4 separate regions of the Homo sapiens genome follow, and all the other regions are linked to region 3. The links are contacts of gene promoters, found by promoter capture Hi-C in blood cells and fetal thymus (Javierre and others, 2016). All regions are on one chromosome and are shown on one strand. The core of a region is centred on a gene start or on the middle of the fragment in contact, and the rest is flanking DNA. Distances in the headings are between cores, read along the strand shown. Region 1 overlaps LPP (LIM domain containing preferred translocation partner in lipoma). Region 2 overlaps LPP (LIM domain containing preferred translocation partner in lipoma). Region 3 holds the start of FLJ42393 (a long non-coding RNA gene). Region 4 has its middle 12 kb from the start of TPRG1-AS1.

Region 1 (2,971 bases), core at 206-2,705, 550 kb after region 3:
CAAGAGATAATAAGCTTATTATATTATGCAGATCTATACCTATTCACTTCGTTTAGTTAAGAAACAGCTCATCAATATGGAATACACATTTTCATAGTAGATTTGTGGGTTGCATAGCTTTTTTGTGTCTGTTTTCAATTTCTGTTCCTTTGATAACTGAACAAATAACAGAGATGGTGAAACCCAGCAAGCAAATTATCTTCCAGATTTTATGTGATCTCCCTTCTCTAGTGAGTTGGTATGTCTACTAATGACACAGTAGATTATAAGGTTATTTGGTTTAAGTAAATATTTATGCAGAGCCTATGATATGTCCATCTCTGTCTTAGGTGGGGTGAATTAGAATTACTATAAGTGCTTTCTGAAAAAAAAAAAAATGTACCATGAACAAATTTAGAGGTCTCTGCCCCCAAGAAGTCCATAGACCATTATAGGTTAGAGAATAAAAAATATATGATAATCCCTTTTCCCATGTGATAAATGTTATAAAGGAGCTCTGTACCTATGATTATGAGAGGGAATGTTTGAGAGCTCTAGGAAAAACCTCCCTAGGGAGATTAAGAGGTGATATCTGATGTCTTCATGAAGGAATAAAATGTTTCCAAGTAGAGAAAGAGAAGAAAGATGTTAGATACAGAAGAAACAGCATGTACAAAGGTATAGAGGTAGGAAAACATGGTATTCTGGGAACAGGAAGATGTTACTTCCTAACAGAACTTCTCTGTGGCTGAAGCCACATTGAGTTGAGGGACAAGTAGTGGGACAAGGAAGGATAGAGAGTCTGGAGTTCAGTGATAAAAGATCTTGTGTGATAGTCATAGGAAGGATGTTTTGGATGTTTACCTGTGCAAAATGGGAAATTGTTGACTATTGTCAAACAATGGGTAACATCAGATTAGTGATTTATGTAAAACTGAAGGGATAACCATTTCTACTGCTGTATACCACTTGGATAACCTTATAAAGCCACTTAATAGGGAATAATGGGGCTGGAAATTTAATGGGAATAGATTTAAAGTGCTTGTGGGATAAGAAACATGATATTGCTCTCTTTTGTTCTCTTTCAGTTCAAAACAGGAAGTGCCTAGGTATGCAGAAATGCAAATCAAGCCAGCTATATTTTTGGTGTGTTTTGTGTGTGTTTAGATTTTCACACATCAGCAATACTGTAAGAACACTATGTGGCCAGGCACAGTGGCTCACGCTTATAATCCCAGCCCTTTGGGAGGCCAAGGTGGGAGGATTGCTTGAGCCCTGGGAGTTCAAGACCAGCCTGGGCAACATAGTAAGACCCTGTCTGTACAAAAAGTGAAAAAAAAAAAAAATGGATGGGCATGATGGCATATGCTGTGGTTCCAGCTAATCTGGACGTGGAGGTGGGAGGAGGATCACTTAAGTTCAGGAATTTTTGGTGGCTGCAGTGAGCTGTGACCATGCCACTGCACTCCAGCTTGGGCAACAGAGCCAGACCCTGTCTCCAAAAAAAGAATACTATTATGTGAATAATCCACCAGATTCAACTAAAAAATGGCCATGATGTTTTAAAAGTACATATATACACACATATAGATTTAAAGATTACTTTCAACTTTCTAAGAAATTAGTAGATCTTTAGAAAATCATTGTGCGTATGTGCATATGTGCATTGTTTGTGCTGGTCCCACCTTCAAGGAGAAAATATTTCAAGATCCTGATGCTTACTTAAGAGGTTGTATGTGTTTACCATGGAAAGGACCTTGGAAATCATCTCCTAATTCTGACTTCATTATTTATTTATTTTGATGAAGCAAATGGTGCCCAGATTGAAACAGGAGTGTAAGCCACAGCCACCAAGTGCCAGTGCCCAGGCTAACACTTTTCTCCATTAACTCTGGAAACCTTATTTCCTTTTTGTACCACGTATTTACAGTGTTTGGTAGTTATGAATTGAGTGAATTATCCCAAGGTTGGAGATATCTTGGTACTCACTTGTAAGTGGAGAAACACTAATAGGAAAATATTCTGGGAATCTGGTAAGGAAGTATGAGTGAATTTATCATATTTAACCTTTGTTCAAATACATTAAGCCCTTTCTTCCCTTTGTCATTCTCAAACTGGATCGACATGATAGGAGGAGAAATTTTATCAACTAAAAGGGGTTGTGTCAATAAGTGTTTATGATACCTCTAAACTTAGGCCTTAAAACAACACAATCTGTGATCTGACAGTTCTGTAGGTTAGATGTTCAACATGAGTCTCATCTGGCTAAAACCATCATGTTAGCAAAGCTGCATTTGTCTCTGAAGGTTCTTTCTAGGGGAGAATCCCCCTTGCTTTTTCTGACTTCTAAAAACTGACCACATTCCTTGACTTGTGGCCCTCTTTTTCCATCCTCAAAGCCTGTAACATAGCACCTCTGACCATTTTTTTCATAGTCATTCTGTGTCTGGCCCCAGCTGGGAAAAGTTCTCCAATTGGTAAGGACCTACTTGATTAGATATGACCCACCTGAATAACCTCACATACTCTTCCTATCTCAAAACTCTTAACTTAATCCTATCTGCAAAGTCCGTTTTGTCATATACAGTAGCATGTTCATAGGTTTCAAGCATTTGGACATGGTCCTCTTTGGGAGGCATTACGCTGCCTGTGACAGTGCTCTTCTGATACATTTTCAGTGATCTTCTAGACATAACAATCCTGGTCCTGGGAACATGCATGGCGGGGACCTAAATAAGTCTATTTTTTAAGAGGCCCTACCCTTTGCATAGATTCTAATCTTGGGGTAAAGGAAAGTTTGAGATTTCACTCCACCTTTTTTTTTGGTGCTGGTATTTCCACTGTGGGAAAGATCATTCGGATTTAACAACCACATGAAGCTCCTGGATTATCTGGGGCATGTTTGCTGATTCCCAAGGAAGCTTGATCTTTTTGATGGAGCACTTGAGCTGGTAAGTTATTAGAAGCTGAGCTATAATTTTCCTTGGCATTG
Region 2 (2,996 bases), core at 168-2,667, 580 kb after region 3:
ACTTTGGGTTATATTTAAAGTCACATTCAAATCCCACAACAGGATATAAAGAAATACTTTTCAGGGCCAAATACAACTGGAGAGGATTAGAAATAAATTTACCTTTTTTTCTCTCACGTTGAAACATCTAGCCCTCCCATGTTTGAGTGTGAAATGGCTGTCAATCCAATGTGATGGAGTGCTGAAAGCCGTCTTCAGTGAGAAGTCTCTCCATAATGCTCCCTAACATCAGATCCATGTTAATCCTGATGCACAGAACTGGGAATAGGTAATATAGCATAGTGTTTAAGAGCACAGATGCTGAAGTTAGACTGCTTAGGCTGGAATTTAGTTAACCATTTGTGTGACTCAGTTTCCTCATCTGTGAAATAGGCATAATAACAGTACCTGCATATAGACTGTTGTGAATATGAAATGAGTTAATATATCTAAAGCCCCTAGAAAAAGTCTGACATATGTGAAGCACTACATTTGCTATACCTTATCTATCAAAGCCTACAGCTTCTGGCTAACATTCCCAGTGTTCTATAATTATTAGATAGAATTTTTTTTAACTTAGTAGAAACAAAGACTAAGAAGGGAAACTAGATGTGGACGTGACGTCTAGCTCAAGATTCCCATGATGGAGCCACATAGAGATATGGATGGCAACCAGCATAATGCCTCTCACTGACATAACTATTTGTCTGAATTTATATTTTATTGTTATTATTTAAAGCTTACTGCAAATTTTAAAAACTGAAACCTGATGTCCATATGTAGGCCAGATGCCACATTAATCAATTTAAGAATGCTGGAGCTTCGCAGAATACTGCATGAACAACGAGAACCGTGGCCCTGAAAGACTCAAAACCCTACAGTATATGAAACTATTGCAGGATGTGTGGATGTTCAAAGGAATAACAGACTTGGAAGCAATGCTTACTGAATTTTGATGTATTAAAGGATGTCAAGTCCAAGAGAGAGATAAGGTCTCAGAAGACAGAACTAGAACCATGGGGTAAGCAGTTAGAATGAGGAAGCACTATGGCTCAGTAGGAGAAAGAACCTTTTAGCCATCAAAGCGATCTAGAAATTAAAGGACTGCCTTGGGATCTGCCTGTCACTGAGAGCTGGCTGCAGAGGTTTTACAATCAGGGCTTTTGTAAAAGGAACTAAAATTTGAGTTTGGACCCAATTATCTTACATTCTAACTGGATGTGTAGAATCTCCAAGAAGAAAGACTCTTCTGTACTGTTTTATAGATTTTGCCTTCCACTCCAAACATCCTGAGTCATGTTCCTTTTATACTTGCATGTGAGATGAGAGTCAGAGCACTGACCTCAAAGCCAGCGACCGGGTTCTACTGTTCCTTTCTGCAAGAACTTAGACTATGAGACTCAATCCCCTCAACCGATTAATGTAAAATCCCCTCCATGCCAATCTTGCAGAGGATAGGGGTGGCTGTACTGGTGATCTTGCTGGGGTAATGGGGTAATAGTACTGGGGTAATGACGGCAGGAGTGGTGGTTCTATTGCTGCTGACGTTATGAACCTGCTTTCTCCTCCACTTTGGCTTTAGCAGGACTGAAGTACTCCTTGGTGTGTTCTTATCAAACCCTTTTTTTTCCAGGCCGCTGTGCTCGCTGTGGAGAAAACGTAGTTGGGGAAGGTACAGGATGCACTGCCATGGATCAGGTCTTCCACGTGGATTGTTTTACCTGCATCATCTGCAACAACAAGCTCCGAGGGCAGCCATTCTATGCTGTGGAAAAGAAAGCATACTGCGAGCCCTGCTACATTGTAAGTTCCAGATTTGTTCCTCAAGCACTTTGCAAAGATGTCTTCTGTGGCTGAATGCCAGTCACTCTAGATAGAATATAGCCATCAGATCTTTGCTTCTTCCTAGACTTCAAAATGTGTGTGTGGGGTGTGTGTGTGTGTGTGTGTGTGTGTGCGTGCGCGCATGTAAATTAGCATATTGTAATTTTTTTCTACACATCCCCCATTCATAAGCAGTCAGAAAGGTGTATTAGCATGGGACTGCCATTCAGTTAGTGGTCTGCTGGGAAGATCATCAGCCTGTGGCTTTCTAGCATGTATGTACAAGCTAAAATTTTCTTTCTTAAAGCATCAGAAAGCTTTCCAAGTAGCTGAGTCACACCTCTTATAAGATCTCACCCTACATTTGAAGTGCCCAGTAGTTTCAAGGAAACTTTACAGAATCTCTGGACTTGTCAGTCCTCTTCCAGAATACTGGGCCCTTTGAGTCCATTTTTATCTACCAAAATGTTTCTTCCCCCTCTTATCCAACAGGTTTTTAATGATGCAAACAGGGGAACTGTTTATTATAAAGCACCTTAAAGAGAAATGAACAGTAATGCTGACTGAGCTAATCATTGTTTTCTTTTATTACAGAACACAAAAACTATATTTTAATAATATACCTGGGTAACTAAAAAATTCTCAGTCATGTTACCTTAGCGTTTTACAATGCTACTTACTTAATCTACCTGTTAAACTATTCTCTGGTAGAGTAATTTGATGAATGAACACAGACTTTTTTCATCTATTGTAAATTTCTTTGCTATCCTTCAGCATGATTTTAATCTTTGTTTAACACATGTTGATGGGAAAAGTAGTGTTTTTTGTTTGTTTGTTATGTAAACCCACAAAACAGTCATGGTTTGTCCCTCAGTGCCCAGAGATTTCAACATAAAAGACACCTTGGTTTCTTTACCAAGGTATTGGGAGTCATACTTGGCTTTACAAGGTTCACATTTATTGAAGACGTTTTTGGCCTGGTTGGTATTTTCCTATAACTTGGCAGCTCTAACCCATTGTAACCTTGGGGTCTGTAGCACAGATCTGAAAGTTCATCAAGATTAAGGCTTCGTAGGATTAAATATGGCTTTGCATCTGTCTTAGGTTCAATTTTATTTCGTTTTCTTTCCAAAGGTAACTTAATACATGTAACATCATTTCTTTCCAAAGGTAGCTTAAACACATGTAGAGCC
Region 3 (3,200 bases), core at 202-2,701:
TTGATCTGAGGGAGAGACCTGGTAGAAAGAGCTAGGCAGTATGAGGCTGAGTGTCTGAAGGGGTAGCAGGCCTGGGGGTGGTCCAGTGATGGTTGAATGGGTGGGCCAGCCCAGCGAGGGGATCGCCTGCAATCCAGTAGAGATGCCCTCATTTTCATGGCAGGGTCCCCCTGTGCCAGTAGACAGACCCAGGCCTGGGAAGGAGGGCTGGTTGAAGTGAGATGGATACCAGTCTTGGAGCATGGTTGGAGAATCTGTCCAGGGTGATGGCATCTGTTTTGGATTGGGGCCTTGAGGCACATTTTCAGTTCTGCTCCCTGGACCAGCATAGGAGGGTGGCAGACAGTACAGTGATTTGAATACAGGATTGATCCTGCCACCTTGATTTCTGCCTTTATTTAGCGGCAAAGACACTAGATCAGAAAAGTACTGGATGTGATTGCTGTAGTCTTTCATGATTGATTTAGGAGCTGGGAGAGGCCTGGCTAGGAGTTGGAGGATCCCTGGGAAGATGAAGATTAGGTCTTACGTGAGCCTCAGCCCTCTCCTCTGTAAAATGGGAGTAATGATGGTAATTATGCTGATGTTACCTATTCTGACTGGAGTAAGGATTAAAGTACTTGTCTGGAGGAAGGCACTTCATGGTTAAAACATGAAAAGAGAAGTGCACAGTGTTTTTATTACAGGGAAACACCAAAGAGCTGGAAAGGAATGAGGGCTGGAGAGATGGAGCTGCCCTGAGGACTCTGGGAGGTCATCCTGGGGGCAGAACTTTGACAGTTGCTGCCCGAGGTGGGACAGGGATGCTGGGAAGATGTGACGATGTGCATAAGTGTGTCATGTTCAAGATGGTTCTAAGCCCTGGCCAATTCCATACATGCTCTTTTCCTTTCTCATCCATAGAGGTTTTGGCAAAGGCATACTTGGGAGTGTTGATATAGCTGACACTGCAGCACCCTCAGTTTACAGGTGTGAGAAGAGTGAGGCTCCCACAGTCTCACTTGGACAGGTAGTCAGGGCTCTGATGGAGCTCCTGGAGTTTCTAGGTTCTCTGTCACTTGATAGTCAGTGCTGGGAGGGACCTCAGGGAATCAGCCAATTTCACAGATGGGGAGAGTGAGGCAGGTTGGGAATTCTGGCCCCAGTGGAGGGCACCACATGCCCACAGGGAAATGTCTTTCCCAGCCCCCTCCTCATGCTTCTCCTCTTTTCTGTCTGGAAGTCCTAGTTCTCCTCCTCACGCTGAGACCCAGGTAGGGTGATTGTCCATGTTTCTTCATTTATCTGTTTTTTTTCTGTTGCCCAGGGACTACTCTAAGCACCATGCTGGTTGCTGACTGTTCGCTTTTGCAAGATCTTGGAATCTCTGTTTGTTCACATCACAACTCAAGAGGATACGTTCTCATTCTCCCAATGTTTGTCTTCTGCCCATTGCATCAAATTGCTCTTCCTTGTTTGGAATTAAACTTCTAGCAATCATTTACCTTTATGGTTCTCTTAACTTCAGGTCACACTGTTGTTTAGTCAATGTGAGAATCTTTCAGATGTTCTGCACTTTGCAAAAGGATATTCACAGCCAATGTGTGCGGCAGTGAAGGACACTTGTTGATTCCTTATTTATTGTCTGCTGTTCCAGGGACCGGGGACTAGAGGTGAATAAAGCCTTGTTTGGGCTGTCTAGGATGTTGTGATCGACACAGGAAACAGACATGAAAGCCAAATTGGCGCAGTGGGTGAAGTATTGTAATACTGGTCTCTGTTTATGATATATGGAAGAAGTTTCCTAGTAGCAGGGTGGGTGAGAGAGTCCATCATCATTGCAGATTGGTGCCTCTGTGGACATGCAGGTATATTAGGCCAGAGGTGGGGAGTGGGAGAGAGAGGGAGAGAGAGAGCACGACAAAGAGAGAGAGAGAGAGTGAGCAAGAGAGAGGGAGGGAGAGAGACAGAGAGAGAGAGAGAGAGAGAGAGAGAGTGAGCAAGAGAGAGGGAGGGAGAGAGACAGAGAGAGAGAGAGAGAGAGAGGTTTTGAGAGCATTGATATGGGGTCTACATATTCCCCCCGGCCCCCATTCCCTATTATCATAGAAGCATGCTGCCCTCCAAGGCTTTTGAATTTGCCACCGTGAAGAGCATGCATGGAATCTTCGGCTGTGGCCTTGCATTGCCCCCTGTCTTCGCAGCGGAGCTTCTTTATCTGACCCGTGCATGTGCCTCTGATGAGCAGCCCTTCATCACAGCTCTGCGGCCTCCTCCTAGGCCCCCGCCTTCAGCTCTCCAGTTCATTTCCCGCCTTGTTCCCATTGCCACCTGCGGGCTTGGAGGGCCACCTGACATTCTGTCCTTTGGGTCCCCTGTGACTCCAGAGCTCCTTCCCTTCTGGGGCGCCCACATCTGCGACACGCTTGTTTGCCCAGTGCATTTTCTACACTTAGAGTTCCTCTCGTGCTCTCATATTTCCATTTAAAGCCCTCTCGAGAGGTCTGTCTCCTGCCAGCAGCATTCCTTCTAGTTTACTAGAACTCCATTTCTCATCCTGCCAGGAATCCAGCCGTGGAGTGAGCTTCAGCAAGCCTCTCTGCAGTCTCTTGTCTGCTCCAAAACTGTGGCCTCTGGTTGTGAGAAATGGGCATCCTGAGTCAGTGAGAGCAGTAGTTAGCTTGCAGCAGCTTCCCCTCTCCCCCTGAGTGAGCCTTTCTTCCTCTTCCTCCTCTTTCATTCAGCCTCATCCTGCCTTGGGTCCATTTGACAGATAATGGCACCTTGAGGCCTTGTCTTTTGCATGGCATCTGTGCCTGACTGGTCAGAAATTACTTGTGAAGCAACATAGGGGGTTGTTGGTTGGGTCCACTTTTAGGATGAAGTCAGAAGGGATCGTGAGTGATGCTTGGCCAATAAGAATGTATTGATTTGATTTACTAATTAATTTCATTTCCAGACACCAATATATGCATAGCCTTGTTTGAAGAAAATTAAGGAGAACCATTTTGTAAATGGCAATGAGTGTAAGACACTTAACTATCTTCCTGCTCTCCCTGGCGTGGGCTTCCGCGCTCCCTGACTCTGCTTTTATTTAAGGTGTCTGGGAAGGCATTTGTCCTTCGGCTTCCCAGCTGGCTTCTTGCCTTCTCACTCACTGCCTCCCGTAGCCTGTGGGCAGAATCCCTCACCGTGCCCACCTTGCCCTGCTCTCGTCTGAC
Region 4 (2,944 bases), core at 312-2,811, 780 kb after region 3:
AGCCAAATACACTAGAAGCAACTTAAATATTTAGCAACAAGGTAATCATTTTATTGTGATATTTTGGCCAAGTATCATTTGGTGGTTATTGCTCGTCACTCATGTAGTAATTACAATGACTCTGTTGGAATGAAGGAAAAAAGTCCAAAAAAATAAGAACAGGCCAGACTTTGTTTTTGGAATTAGAAATGAACCTTGAAAATTTCATAGTCAAATTCTGTAATTCTAAAATATAACTATTATCAATAAGGAAAATTGTTCATGATAGTATTTTAAGTGAAGAAAGAAAAATACAAAATGGAATGAACTTCACAATTACCAACTTTGTAAATAAAGGTATGAAATGTATGAACGGGGAAAGATTTAAGGCTTTACCTTTTGCTAATTTTTCTTTTCTGTTTTATTCTTTCGATGATTGTAAAACCCCACATTATGCAATAATTCACCAGTTTTTCAACACTGGCATCCTGGGAGGCCTTGAGGTGCCTGGGATTTGACTTAAAGTTGGCTAGAACCACAGGATCACCCCTCTAGAGGAGTGAGGATTAGGCAAGAGCTCACTCAATTATAGGTGGACTGGGTTGGAAAGTACCTTTGAGATCATTAAGATGAATTATACCACTTAAAAGCAATTTGATCTTGAATAAGTTACTTGTCTTTGCTAAACCTCAGTTTCCTTACCTGAAAAGTGGCATAATAAAAGTATCTGTGCCTGAGTTTTGTGGTGAGGTTTAAATGATATAAATGCAGTAGATGGCACAGAGTAAGCTCTCAGTACATGTTAGTTATTGATATCACAGAAGCCAGTGGTTGAGCCAGGGCCAGAATTCACTTTTTTCAACTTCCTTACTGGGGCTTTTTCTGTCACACTATGTCATAGATCTTTCATCTTTACCCAGACTAAAATCCTTTGCTTTCGTGAGCACCGGGTAAGAGAAAGCTTATTCCGATAATACTGAGGATACTGTGACTTTACATAACTCTTGTCTATCAGGTGACCAATAGCATACACTATAGTCAGAACTACCTGTTAAAATGGCCAGAGATATCATAAGGAAAGGGTGCCTACTGAACTGAAAGCATGCCTTAAATAAGACAGAACTGGGCTCAACTTCTACAACAGTGTATGTCCTGCTCGAGTTCTTATTCTGCATTTGTTTTTATGAGCCTCAGTTTTCTTATTGGATAAATGAAAATCATTCTTCTTATACGGATGAAATATGAGTTGCCACATGTAAAATGCAATGCAATTCAAAGTAGTGATTTTTAAAAATTATTTTATTAAAAAAGTTATATTGTATGTTTTATGTGCTAGGCATTATTCCAAGGGATTTATAACAATTAATTCATTGAATGGATTCCTTATAGCAATTCTATGAGGCAGGTACTATCATTATTGTTGCTTTACTCAGGGAGGCACAGGAATGTTGAGTAACTTATCCAACATCACAGAAGTTGTGAGTGGTGGAGCTGAGGTTTGAACCTAGACATTCTGGCCACAGAATCCATGCACAGCCCTCATGCTGCCTTATTATCACTGAAACAGCTTTGGCCTAAGAGAAACCAAAGTCAAATATAAATTCTAGAATCTGTTCTTCTTTCTTACAAGGTCCCATTCAGTTTAGTTCAGTCCCATCCACGGCAATCTGATTCACTCCAATTCATTTCAGTTTAATTCATTTCAGCTCAAGAAATATTTTTTTGAATGTTTAGTTTGCATCAATAGCCACTGTGTTTGGCATTGTGAGGGAGGAGTAGGACCCAAGAAACTTGCAATTTGATGGGGAAGCATAAATCACATATAAAAATGATGGTGAAATATGCAGTGGAGAAGGCAGTTTCAAGAAAGAACTTCAAATCTGGAACTGTGAGGATCAGGGTCAGCGTGCTTTATCAAGTTTCTCCTCTCTACTGCTCATTGAATGAAAACTGACCCATTCGTGGGGTCAGACAGGGTCTCCTGGAACCACAGAGTGTGGGTAGAGGACAAGTTGAAACATAGGTACTCTGGACTCCTGAAAAGCAGAGGATCTTAGACTGGGCTTATGTCTTCAACAGTGAGACCATTGCCCTCTGTCTAGTTCCAGCCGGAGTGGCTGACAGCCTCCGGCTGCCATTTTAAGCTAAGATGAAGCCATTTCAGTGGCCTGGTATATATGATTCTTCGTTCTCCCTCTCTTACTAAGCTTTTCGAGGAAAATCTGCCTATTGATGTGGGATTTTCTATTTTTTGATTATTAAAGGAGGCAGTTTATATACAACATCTTGCACAGGTCCGACCCATCGTTAGTGCATGTAAGGGGGCAAATGTTACCCTAAACCTTTGTAATCTGACCACATCCCCTAGTCAAATGGCTCACAAGCCTGACTGTGTATGACAGTCATTTTCCTCTTTTAGGGAGCTCTATATTCCTGTTCCAGGATGAAAACCGGGAAAACCCAGCCAAAGCATCTAAGATCATGCTCTTGCTTGTTTAGTGGCCACACTGCATGGAATTTGAGTATTCCCCATGGGTAAACTGCTCCCTTACACAACACCTTTGACGTTACACTATTAAAAAGGCTTGCATATTAAAATTTGAGGCATGTGTAAATACCTCATAATTAACTGCTGTCTATTTAACCAGACAGCTCTAGCAAGTTAATTTGATGTCTGTTATGAGACTTAATAATTGTCAGTGATTTTTTTAAACAATTTACTGGTATAATCATTAACTACTCCTAGATTATCTTGTCAAATTGATAATTAAATGGCTCAAAAATTCATTACAGAGTTAGTATATTAATGGGAATGTAATTAAATAATGTTTGCTTATGTAATCTAGAGTTTATTACCTGTACACTTATTTATTTTTTCTATACTTTATTAAATCTTCTAGAGGCCTTTTCAAAATTGATAGAAAACCAAGAGTCAATAAATGTCTTATTAGATCCAAATAAGCCA

What was found. The method cuts DNA at HindIII sites, captures the fragments that hold promoters and counts their contacts. A CHiCAGO score of 5 or more calls a contact.
Region 1: a contact is called between a fragment that was not itself captured here and the fragment with the promoter of FLJ42393 in region 3, in 3 of 17 cell types (naive B cells, neutrophils and total B cells). The highest score is 6.0, in naive B cells.
Region 2: a fragment that was not itself captured here is called in contact with the fragment with the promoter of FLJ42393 in region 3 in 1 of 17 cell types (naive B cells); the score reaches 5.1 in naive B cells.
Region 4: a contact is called between a fragment that was not itself captured here and the fragment with the promoter of FLJ42393 in region 3, in 1 of 17 cell types (M0 macrophages). The highest score is 5.2, in M0 macrophages.

What each region holds. Positions count from the first base shown.
Region 1 is chr3:188,728,512-188,731,482 of GRCh38, forward strand. The region is part of intron 8 of LPP (LIM domain containing preferred translocation partner in lipoma); the gene reads left to right. Among named protein-coding and RNA genes, the nearest start is that of MIR28, 41 kb to the left of the region's middle. The HindIII fragment of the contact is 2,886 bases long and covers 13-2,898 here.
Region 2 is chr3:188,758,501-188,761,496 of GRCh38, forward strand. LPP (LIM domain containing preferred translocation partner in lipoma) reads left to right here. Exons shown (of 12, transcript NM_001375462.1): 9 at 1,613-1,782. Among named protein-coding and RNA genes, the nearest start is that of MIR28, 71 kb to the left of the region's middle. The HindIII fragment of the contact is 1,402 bases long and covers 717-2,118 here.
Region 3 is chr3:188,177,092-188,180,291 of GRCh38, forward strand. It overlaps FLJ42393 (a long non-coding RNA gene), which reads left to right and starts at 1,452. Exons shown (of 1, transcript NR_024413.1): 1 at 1,452-3,200. The region is part of intron 1 of LPP (LIM domain containing preferred translocation partner in lipoma); the gene reads left to right. RefSeq lists an enhancer at 2,216-2,828. The HindIII fragment of the contact is 11,595 bases long and covers 1-3,200 here.
Region 4 is chr3:188,958,657-188,961,600 of GRCh38, forward strand. No RefSeq gene overlaps it. Among named protein-coding and RNA genes, the nearest start is that of TPRG1-AS1, 12 kb to the left of the region's middle. The HindIII fragment of the contact is 1,246 bases long and covers 939-2,184 here.